Regions from separate parts of the Homo sapiens genome. Here region 1 is linked to region 2. The links are contacts of gene promoters, found by promoter capture Hi-C in human tissues and cell types (Jung and others, 2019). All regions are on one chromosome and are shown on one strand. Each heading gives the region's core, a stretch centred on a gene start or on the middle of the fragment in contact. The rest is flanking DNA. Distances are from core to core; before and after follow the strand shown. Region 1 overlaps RASAL2 (RAS protein activator like 2). Region 2 holds the start of TEX35 (testis expressed 35).

Region 1 (5,330 bases), core at 1,336-3,835, 39 kb after region 2:
CTTCAGCTCAGATTGCTTATTGCTTCAGTAATATAAAAGGGGAATATGAAGCTCTTTTCTGACTCCTACCAACACTGTCCTCATTAATGGTCAAGTCTGTTGTCAGCTAGACATGCACTTTACAAGCACTTCACCTGAATTCCAAATTCCACTCAACCCTGATCTATCCTGCGCCCCACAATGTGGTGTTGTTTTGAGGGAAACAGGAAGTGCAAGACATTGCTATCTTAATCTATTTGCCTCTCTTCAGCCATGTACCTCCTCCCAGCAAACAAAGTTATTTACCTACTTGAACTGAGGGAAAGCCAATTAAGAAACATCTCCATAAAAATTATCACCTGTTGGTGGCTTCTCTTCTTAAAAAATCCTTCAGAGTAACTTATACAGATTGCAGCATTCTCTAAAGAAATACTGAGAAAAAAGGTTGGACAGGAGTAGGCTCACAGGATAACTTAACATTTAACATCTATCAGCAACTCTGAACTTTTAGCTTATTGGTAATGCTCTATTATTATTATTTTTTACTATTTCTTCTTCATTCAAGATAACCTGGTAGTAGAAGGCTGCATAATCTGTCCAAATGTTTTGGGCATTAAATCTTTCAGTGAAGACAGCCCTCTAAGGAGCTCCCATAATGCTAATAAGATACACTCTATCCATCAAAAGCACATTTGATTTTTTGGGGCTTCTCTCAATTCCCAATATAAGTAATTTTATCAGCCCTCTGTAATCCATAATCGGCACTTAAGAGCTTCCAAACCTCAATGGCAAGACATCACCCACATTACATACTTATGGCCAATGAAACTGACAATTCTCTTACCAGGTTTTCTGTGGCACAATTGAAGGCTTTTACAAAGAATGAATTAAACATGGCTTGAGCTGAGAATAGCCAGAAACAAGAACAAATCTATGCTTACATCCCTCCTCCTTCAACAAAGGACACTACACTTTGGAACAGTTACCTCTTTTTCCTAATAAAATAAGTGATTTTGACCACAGTGTGCCCTCCGCTTGGAGAGAAGGTGTAAGAATTTGCAAACCAAAACCAAAGGTGAAGAAAACGTAAAAGTGCCAAAACAGCTGGATATAAAGTGTGCAGATCAGATAAACACAGTGAGAAACTCCCATTTTAGATCTGTCTGGCAGAAACAGGGATTGCTATGAAAGAAACTGTTTTAAAAGGTTGTGGGTTATGTGGCCATGGTGAGGTTGCTGAAACGTAAGGTCCAACACAAAGATCCACCTGAGAGAGGGCAGAGCTCAAGAGGCTGGAATGCAAGCCTGGGACTTGGTGAAAAGGAGGGCTTGGTGTCTGTCGGCATCACTCAAAAGAGGGCACTATACATGTTCTCTTATAAATATTCTGTTATGGAGAAACACTCACTTGATGCATATGGCTCCCTCAGGTCCTTTTTTTTCCATCCCCTTTTTCTAGAAAAAAAATTCTTTAAAGCTTATAATTTAAAATCAACATCAACTTATTCGAGAAACATTGTTGCTTTCTCAATATAAAACAACTACTTAGATCTTGCTTAAAGAGGTTTGAGACCCTTTTAACATTATATCTGAACAGCATAGAAGGCATGAACTTTTCCTATTTGTGCAGTTATATGTACATATGTGTGAATATATATTATATATATATTTGTATATATAATGTCTGTTTAACATGTAACCTTCCATACTTCTGGTAATCAAGGTTGCATTCAAGATGACATTGCACACCTCTGGAAAAAAGGAAATGAATTCGTTTCCATGACTTTTTCTGTTCTATAATAATAAGGCTATGGATGACAAGTGTTGAAATTGGGTCATTATTGTCAGATCTACGAGCATTGGAATAATAACTGGAATGTGCCATCCTGACACTTTCCATTATTTTCTTTTTCTTTTAAGAGAGTGATGCTTCAAATTTGGATTTCCTTTCTTTATTGAGGGGATAAGGGGAAGAAGTACTTTAAAAGTTAAAGATGGAGATAAAATTACCCCCCATAGATTTGCTAGTACAATGGATAGAGTCTTTATCCCAAACAAAAATTATAACAACACATAGAAAAAATTTTTAATAGGAAATATTCAGAGATTCCAGCTGTGGTATGGTTAGCCCTTTTCTGTATGGAAGAAAGGGTGTTGATCTGGATGGCTTATGGACAGCTATTTAAATAACCTCTCCAGGGGAGAGTAAACCCTGTTGGTGATGACAGCTCCCACTATGGGGAGGAAAGCACAGTGAATGTGTGAAGATGAAGATGGTATGTGGAGACACAAATATTTATAGTTTTGTAAACTCTAAAGAGGAAAAAGAACACCCTTTATTACAATTGGGGTTAAAAACAAAAAGCCCCTGTCTAAAAGAGAAGACTCCCATCTGCTGTAGACAGAGGAAATAAACATATTGACAGGAGTTCAATAGAAATTACTCCTAAAGTCCAGTTTTGATGCAACAGCTTTTGTCTGTGTCCTCTGAAACAGTGAATCCCCAAATCAGATTAGCTGTCCAACCAGAACCAGTCTTGGTTGATCAGTGGAATAAATTATTGTTTTGTATGGATCTTGGTATTTGCATGTTTTCTGAAAGGACAAGAGGGCCAGAGTGGGGTTTTTAAACTAGTAGATGAATCCCTGAAAAATTCCTTCTCACAATGTCCTATTGCACTCCATGTGCTTCTATCAGATAGATGCTTGGTCTCTACCTACTGAACCTACAGGCTCATGTCTCGCTCACACAACAGTTCCTACTTTACTTCCTGTAACAACTGCAGTGCTTTCAACAAGAGGAAAACAATAATAAAAATAGCAATAATCAAAAAGGTAATCTACATTATTAACTTCCTTTTGGTATATTACAGTGATATTTTCTGTACATGGCCCAGAACTAAGTTCCCTATGTACATAGAGATGTGGGGGAAAAGCATTGACCTTGGAAGTCGCCGCCTTATGCCCTGAAAGACAAGGTTCCTTTCTTCATTCAGGAGTTTCTCACCACATCGCCATTGTGAAGTAGCAACATTCTGTAAACCTGGAGGGGCTAGGTAAAGGTCTGGAGATAGGAGAGTGGGTCAATTTCCTTCTGTCTCCTTCCACAGACAAAGCCCGTCAGCAGCTGCTGTTTTTGAATTCACCATTCTCCGTGATGGAAAGCTTGGTGGGGTTGGTGGGGGAGATGCCATTGCGGACCTGCATGCTGTACCGCTCCTTCACTTGGGTCAGCGCGCTCATCAGTCTGGTGTTGGCTGAATCCAGGGACACGATCCGTTTTTCCTACAACACACCAATCATGGCTTTATTCAGGCTACAGGCAGGAGGTAACACGCTTTCTTTACTGAATGACTAGTCCAGTGCTTTCTCTCAAACAGTTGTATGCATGGTGCTTCCCAGACAAATGGAACGTCTCTGCCTCTTTCTGCACACTGGTCAGGTTCAGCTTCCCCTGAGCCCAGTGGATCTGTGTTTATTTTTTTCTCTCTCTCTTTTTCTTTCAGCATAGCAGGACTTTTTATTAACAATCTCTTGGGACATTAGACTGTCATGTAAAAGTGATACCATGTGTTACCTCAGACTATGCAACACAGGTATCAAGCTGCCTTATTATACTAAGTGCTTTAGGTCAAAATTGAAACATGGAAATTAGGTGGCAAAGAAAGAAGCACCAGAGGTTTCATTTCACAGAGGAGAAGAGCATGTGATCTATGGGTTCTTAGCCCCAAAAGAGGGCATATCAGTCACATTTGGAAGGAATTCACATTGTGCTCAAAATTAAAACAATACATGGTGGCAGTGTAGAGTCACCAACAAGGTGAGGTTGCAACAGCAAGAGGGGAAAAAAGCAGCCAAAAAGCTCAGACCAAGGAGTTACTTGAATATGGGGAGGGAGATGTGCCGAAAAGGGAATGCCATCAACATAACACATGAGAACAAACAGAGAACACAGGCTCCTAGACCCATTCCAGCTCAAAGTTACTCCAGGAGGGCTGCCCAATACGGAGATTGCTTTCATTTTACTTTTGAGTCTCTGAAAAAAAATGCTTTAGAAACAATATTTGGAAACCAAGCATTGGTGAATACACACACACAAAAACCAAGGGGGAAGAAAAGAGGAAAAAAAATAGGCAGTCTAACTAAAGGAAAGTAGGACTATCTAAAATTTTTTTAATAAAATCATTTTATCAAAACATTATCAGTCTCCTAAGGATTAGGTTAGAAGAGATACCCTAATCTTAGCTTCAGCAGCTCAGTAAATCATTCTAGAACCTTTCTAACATGAAGTCTATAGTTTTCAGAAAACAACGCAGGAAACAGTCTTTACCTATGCCTGTAAAATTAAAAAGAAAATAACACATAGGGAATACCTCCAAAGCCAAAAGGAGTTTTACTACCTTAGGGGTTTTTAAAATTGACCCTGAGAAAAGCATGGTAAAGTTTAGTCATGGTAAAGTTCAGAGAGGAAGTAGCAGGGCTCAGGGCTGGTGCTGCTCCTTGCTATTAAAACAGCAGCTACCCAGGGCTGTCATGTAGTGCTACACTTTGGGACACATGCTACTGGGAGCATGCAGAGTGAAGACCACGGCCCTGGGGGAAAAATCTAGGTAAAATCACATACCACCATGGCATCAAGTAATACTTCCCTTTACTCTCCTGCTTTCTGGGGGCAGGAGGGTAGGATCCGTAAGGCAGCAGTGCTGGTGGTCACAGTTTCAAAAGTATATTAAAAAAAAAGAAACAACAACAAACTAGCTCTTGCTTGTCATTATCATTTAAAAAAAAATCCTTCTTTCCCTGATGGAGAACTCATGTGGTAAGATATACAAAATCAGCACTATTAATGACCCATGCATCTGGTATAAAATGCTTTTTATTTTAGGAAAGTAATTCATTTTAAGGATAGACAAAACTAAAGGAAAGAGCTGCAAGGCTTTTAAAAAATAATTATTATTAAAAAAATTTTAACCAATGAAGTTTACTGGGATAACAAATATAGATCTTTGAAAAGCCAATAGGTAAGAACTGGCCAGTGAATACTAGAAAACAAGAGGTAAGAGCTAAGTATGATATTCCCCCCTCCCTACTCGCATTATTAGGAATGATCTCTAAACTGAGTAACTGATAATTTCTTGAACGATTAAAGAAAAGATATTTCAGAACTGGGATAAATTATAAGGCCTCATAAGGAAATTAGGATTCTCCAGGGTTCATCCAAAAATAAATAATTCATAAAAAATTTGATTTTTAAAGGGTCAAAAAGCCTAAGAATGACTGTAATTACTTACTGCCTAAAAAGGTAACAACTGAAGACAAACAGCCCCCCTACTAAACAGCTGAAAGTTTCC
Region 2 (6,134 bases), core at 858-3,357:
GAATTGCTTGAACTTGGGAGTTGGAGGTTGCAGTGAGCCTAGATCATGCCACTGCACTCCAGCCTGGGCGACAGAGGGAGACCTTGTCTCAAAAAATAAAATAAAAATAAATAAATGTCAGTGTACCCAAAGAAAAAGAACTGTTCTGTTCCAGATTATAGAAAAGACACCTGGTAATTCGAGGCAATGTGTGATCCTGGATCAGACCCTAGACCAGAAAACGTCCCCTTTCTGTTGTTATGCAACACATGTGTGGGACAACTGGTGAAATTAGAACAAGGGCTATAGATGAGTATTGTCTGTGTGTTAACTTCTGGATTTTGATAATTGCACTGTGCCTATGTAAGAGGATATTCTTGTATTTAGGAAACAGGCACTGAGGATTTGGGGAAAACTTACACTCACGTGGTTTGGAATATAGACATGCCTCCAAGTTCACGCACTCACCTTTAGGTCCTGTGTCACTCCTGCTTTGGTAAACCGCCCTTCTTGTTTAACTGCTTTGTAATCAAATGTCTGTGGATTGAAACAGGAACACAGACCTTTGGGAATTGCAGATGGGCGGTGGAAGTGCAGAGGCAGAAGAGATCCCCCTGTGTTTCTGTTCCTCCCTTAGGGCTAAGGCAAGAGGAAAGCTGGTGGCCCCACCTGTGCAGAAGGTTCCTCTATCCTCCTCCCTCTTTCAGCTCATCTTGTTCCACTCCCCTGCTGGCCCACGGGGCCTCAGCTCCTTTTGTCCCTTGAACAGCCAGGCTCATTCCCACCTTGGGCCTCAGTGCATGCTGCCTCCTCTGCCTAGAAGGCTCTTACTCTGCCTTTGCAAAGCCAGAGTCTTGTCCTTCAGCTCTCAGCTCAAAGGAAGGCCTTTCCCTACCACCCACTCCACGGCAGCCACTCAGACATGTCTCCCTGTCTTGATTCCCAGCAGAGCAGGTAACACTGCTGAATGAGTCCTTGTTCGTTTATGTATCTGATTGGTTACAGTGTGAAGTTCTATGAGAGCAAGAACTCTCAGTGCATCCCCCAGCACCTGGGACAAATCTTGGCCACTAGGATCAGCAAATGACCCCTGACTCCTGGTCACTTCCCCATGGATCTCAGGCCTGGCTGCCTGCATGGCCTCAAAAGGGCTTCTTACTTTGGTCGGCTCTGGCTTCAATTCCAGGCAAACTGCCTTGTAGTTCTTGCTCTGCAAAAAGAGGAGACTGAGATTCAGGCTGGCAGACATCAGGATTGGGGAGGAGAACATCTGGCCCTTGCACGGGAACCCTGCCCCCTGCCCCCCACAACCATGCAACCCTGCCTGTCCAACTGGCTTGAGCTCAGGCTCACAGACCCCGCAGCACCCGGATCCGATTCCTAACAAATCACATCTTGTCGTGCTGTCCTCTTCCTATGGGCGTGTGTCTGCCTATTTGGCAGGCAGCCCTCTCCCTGCTGGAGGCGCCAGCGTGGAGAAAGCACTTTAAGATAACTAGAAGCAAGCCCCGGAAGTGTTGTTTCCAGAGCAAGGGCTTTGGCCATAGGCAGATTTGCACTATAGTCTCAGCTGACCTCTCTACTATCTCTGTTATTTTGGGTGAGTTGCTTAGCCTCTCTGAGCCCCCATTTCCTCATCTATAAAATCGACGTGATGATTATATTTATCTAATAAGGTTATTCTGAGCCTTAGCCCTGCTGGTTAGATGTGGGCCTGGCAGGCCTGGCATGGGCCGTGGAACCATGAGTGGTCTTGGAGTAGGGAGTGCTCCCTTGGCAGTGCTCCTCATCCCCAGAGGGAGGCAGCAGAGGCCTCTTTCCTTCCCACCCCCAAGGCTAGGGATTAATCCCACACCCCTTCCAGACTGAGAGGCTGCTTTATGCTCAGTACAGAGAAAGAAAAACCAGAGATTCATGCGAGCATTCTCTGTATCCCTTGCCCCGACACCATCTCCATTCAGTAGGAGCTCAGAGAGGACCCACACTGTCCAGCAATGTCTCTCTTTTACCAGATGTGTTTTCTTCAATTCTGCCCTCTTGGCCGACATGATGGAGGAGGCCAGGGTGTTCTTCAACTCCCCACAACAGCCCCTGGGACCAGGCCACTGTCCTAGGCAACTTACAGGTCAAGGTGAGGGCAGGGTGACCACCCCTTTGTGTACGGAACAGCTGAGGTCACAATGCCAGGACCCACATGGTGGTCCAGAGCGTCACCACAGCTTCAGGCCTGGGGGGCTTCGGCCACTGAGATGAGGGGTTCAGGCCAGGTTTCAGAGTCCCACCAGGCCTCCCTCTTGCAACAGAAGGAAAGTCCACACTGAGGAGGATCATGGCCTGCTACGGTCGAAGTGCAAGGCACGCGTCAGAAGCAGTGGCTCCTTCTGCAGCAGGACTCACCTACTGACTCAGAAGGACGTCCTCCAGGGACAGCCAGCTCCTCCTCTGAGCGCACAGCCCATGTCCTCTGCTGTGCGCTCCTCGCGCGAACCGACCCCACCTCGGACCGGAAGCCACCTTGGGCTGGAGGATGCCATGAAGTCTCTCTGGTTCAACGTGCATGCACCGTCTCACTTAACCTGGGTTACTCTGTATGAGGTGGGGTAGCCAGTCTCAGCAGGATGGTTTCTGATGCCTCTGACCTCACACTGCCCCTGTCCCACAACCACCCCCAGACCCCTGCCCACCTAAAAATTCTCTTTTCCTAGTTCTTCTATCATCCGGGAAGAGGGTTGGGACAAGAAGCTAAAGATAAGAAGCTTTTCGGGCAAATGAAGAATACTAAAGAAAAGGCCATTCTGCGGGTAGCCATAGTTTGTGCTAAAGTAGACAGTCAGAGGAACATGGCACCCCATGGGATAAAAAATCACTGGGGATCTGGGTTGGTGAAATTGATTTCTCTTTTCCTCTTATCACTGGTCATTCACTTCCTTCTTCCCTCTCATTTCAACTGCTAGTTGCACAGAAAAGGCCAACATGGACATCTGAGGACAGACAGCACAGGAGTACAGGAACTAATGCAAATTGCATGTGAATGACATCCCCATGCAGGCCACTACTGACCACACTTACCCTCCCATTTCACACACCTGCTTGGGACTATCCTTCCTGGAGGCCACTGGAACTTCTGGAGCCACCTGCAGCACTTCTGATGCATTTCCTAGGTGGTGATTTCCCAGCCCTGACACTGGTGACAGCTGTGGGTCTTACTCCACCATAGCCAGAGGAGAATGTGTCTGCCACTGCATCAGCGGAAGGAGAGGGAGTTGGGGGTGGTCACCAGCTTCCCAGGCTTCACTTTCCCCACTTATAAATGAGGGGCTGGAACTTTTCAGTTTCCTTGGACCTTTTAATTCAGCCCTCTCAGATCTGATGGCCTCGTGGTAGGAATGCCCTTCCTCTAAGGGAATTACAGTGAAAATGACTGACTCCATCTCAACATCCACCAGCCCCGTGAAAATGTGCCCCACCTCCTTCTGCTAATTTTGGCTTGGGGGCCTCCTGGACCTGCAGTAGAGCTTCCCTTGCTTGGCTGAGCAGTTGTTAAATGAGCTGCCTTCTAGCCAAGCATAGCACATGAGCCCACTGGCCTATCTATTAGGAAAGAAGGTCTAAGAGAAATCAGGGTCTCAATGCAAAGCTGCATTATAAAGTAAAAAATTATCTATGTATATATACACAAGTACACATGGTATTATCATTTGGGCAGAATTTTAACTACAGAGCCACAGCTCTGGGCTTGTGCCTTCTCACAGCGTTTACTATTCATGTTCTCAAACATTGTACACCATTGTTTTATCGATATATTCTGGCGGGGCTGGGGGAATCCACGTGGCGAACCTGAATACTGATTATTTATTTATGAAGAGACAGGATCTTGCTCTTTCTCCCAGGCTGGAGTGCAGTGGTATGATCATGGATCATTGCAGTCTCGAACCCCTGGACTCAAGCAATTCTCCTGCCTCAGCATCCTGTGTAGCTGGGACCACAGGCATGCGCCACCCCACTCCCAGCTAATTTTTAAAATTTTTTTGTGGAGACAAGGTCTCACTATGTTGCTCAGGCTGATCTCCAACTCCTGAGCTCAAGGGATCCTCCCACCTCGGCCTCCCAGAGTGCTAGGATTGCAAGCATGAGCCACCATGCCCAGTCTGAATAATGATTCTCATATTCTTTTAAGAAGCTTTTGCACCTGCAAGAGAAACGAGGTTGAAGCAGTGTTGCAGTGTTGGTATTGCTGTGGTGTGACTTTGTTCTAGGTAAGCCATAGGACGTTCTTACTTGAAGAACGCCAGACACGCTTTTCCTAATCCCCCTTCAGGGCAAAACCCCTCTGTACCAGGGCAAGCAGCATAGAGCCCACTGCTGCTCCATCGGAGTTTGGGGGAAAAGGAATATTCACAACAGACAGAAAGAAGCAGCCACCTGTCTCTGTTCTCCAAGTTGATATCATTTGGGTTTCATTTTCTTTACAAGGGTCCTGCTTTTTTTTTTTCAGTTTTAAGGATACAGTGTTGTGAGGGGAGGCTGGGGTCGGGGGGAATTTTAAAATGGTTTTAAGCCTCTGAGTTTGGCATTTTGTGATTCTGGGTCTGGCCCATGATGAGGTCCAGGCTCAGCCACTCCCTGCGTCAAGGCCCAGAGAACATGAAGAGAACATCATGCGTGCTGAGGGGCCTATTCGACCACTGGGGGCCCAATGTTCTAAAGTCCTTTGATTAGGGTGGAACATTTCACAAAGACCCAGAATCCCACAGGCTTTGCTGTCCAGTCAAACTCAAACAGACACGGCTCAATACATGTGACCTAGACGACTCACACTTAGGATGCCCTGGCTGTTTACATCCCAACAGGCTGCAGTATCTGGGTGGCTGCCCTCAGCCAGAGACGATCTTACATGAGATCCTCTTACATGACATTTTTAGAGATCTCATATGATTGATTCCTGTGTCATCCTACTTGACTGATTTATAGACACCTTGGAAAGCTTTACTCCGAGCAGAGTAGAAATAGCTTTTATCATTGGCACACTGATTACTATGCAATTTCTGATCATTTTTATCATAGTGTATCAGACCTTGGCTGGAATCATAATCCTATTATGTTGTTTCTTTGGAAAATTTATATCCAGTTTTTATCATATGAACTTCCTGGTACCTCTATTTCAGCAACAAAACATAACAGTCTGAACAGATCATTGTAAATCTCTGGCTATTTCAATACAGCCAATGACAAGTGAAAAGTCTGAGCAAATGTATTGTGGAAGGATCTTCTCTGTAAGTTCACCATGACAGGCCTATGCTTGCCAGGGCCTTCTGAGACCCAGGGGAAACTGCTACTCTTCCCACAACCAACCATCACAGGGCACCTACCATGTGAGATAAAGACAACACCGCCAGCCAGCAGAGGCTCTCCCTGCTCCTGCCAAACAGGGCTCCTGAGGCCTCCTTACTTAGCCAGTTCCCTTTACCCTCTTTGGATGGAACCCAAATAGAGTACAGTGATGATTTCACGCCTGTCTCTCTCAGCTTCCCTGCCGGAAGGTGCTCTGCAGTTGAGATTCCCTCCCCTAATAGCCTCCTGTCCACCTCTGACAGCTTCAAATTCCCATCCATCACTGAAACAATCAAACTGAGTGGCACAGTAGCCTCTTGGGGCTGGCCTTGCTGGGGGACTATGCTTCACACAGGGTCCATGGAGAGTGGAACGTCTCAGATGGGAGGGTTTCTTGGGTTAGTCCTGGGAATAGCCCTCGTCTCTCCCACTCACATTCCTTTGGCTGGAATATAATCACAAGGCCATATCTCACTGCAAAAGAGGCTGGGAAATATGGCCAGGTTTCTCCCAAGAATAAGAGGAGACAGGCTTATGGGGCAGGCAGCTAATCTCCGCTATACTTTCCTGACACATTTCATCTTCCTTATTCTACTCTAACAAGTCTCCTCATAAGAAAACTTGATTTCGAGTTCTTCCACACTTAGGGTAAAAGGGAGGTAGCTTACAAGGTCCAAAATCCATGAAGTCAGTAGCTGGGTTTGGTGGTGCACGCCTGTGGTCCCAGCTACTTTAGAGGCTGAGGTGGAAGGATTGCTTGAGCCCAGGAGGCCAAGGCTGCAGTGAGCTAGGATCACACCACTGCACTCCAGTCTGGGCAACAG

Evidence for each region. The method cuts DNA at HindIII sites, captures the fragments that hold promoters and counts their contacts. A contact is called where the count stands out against the background at its distance.
Region 1: a fragment that was not itself captured here is called in contact with the fragment with the promoter of TEX35 in region 2 in 1 of the 25 tissues and cell types used here (dorsolateral prefrontal cortex).

The regions. Positions count from the first base shown.
Region 1 is chr1:178,471,009-178,476,338 of GRCh38, reverse strand. It overlaps RASAL2 (RAS protein activator like 2), which reads right to left. Exons shown (of 18, transcript NM_170692.4): 18 at 1-3,264. The coding sequence ends at 3,100. Among named protein-coding and RNA genes, the nearest start is that of CLEC20A, 23 kb to the left of the region's middle. The HindIII fragment of the contact is 4,100 bases long and covers 536-4,635 here.
Region 2 is chr1:178,509,082-178,515,215 of GRCh38, reverse strand. It overlaps TEX35 (testis expressed 35), which reads right to left and starts at 2,107. Exons shown (of 9, transcript NM_032126.5): 1 at 1,989-2,107; 2 at 1,139-1,189; 3 at 448-516. The coding sequence starts at 2,027. It overlaps LOC101928866 (a long non-coding RNA gene), which reads left to right and starts at 2,166. Exons shown (of 6, transcript XR_001738307.2): 1 at 2,166-2,574; 2 at 2,934-3,140; 3 at 4,157-4,235. The HindIII fragment of the contact is 4,578 bases long and covers 1-3,447 here.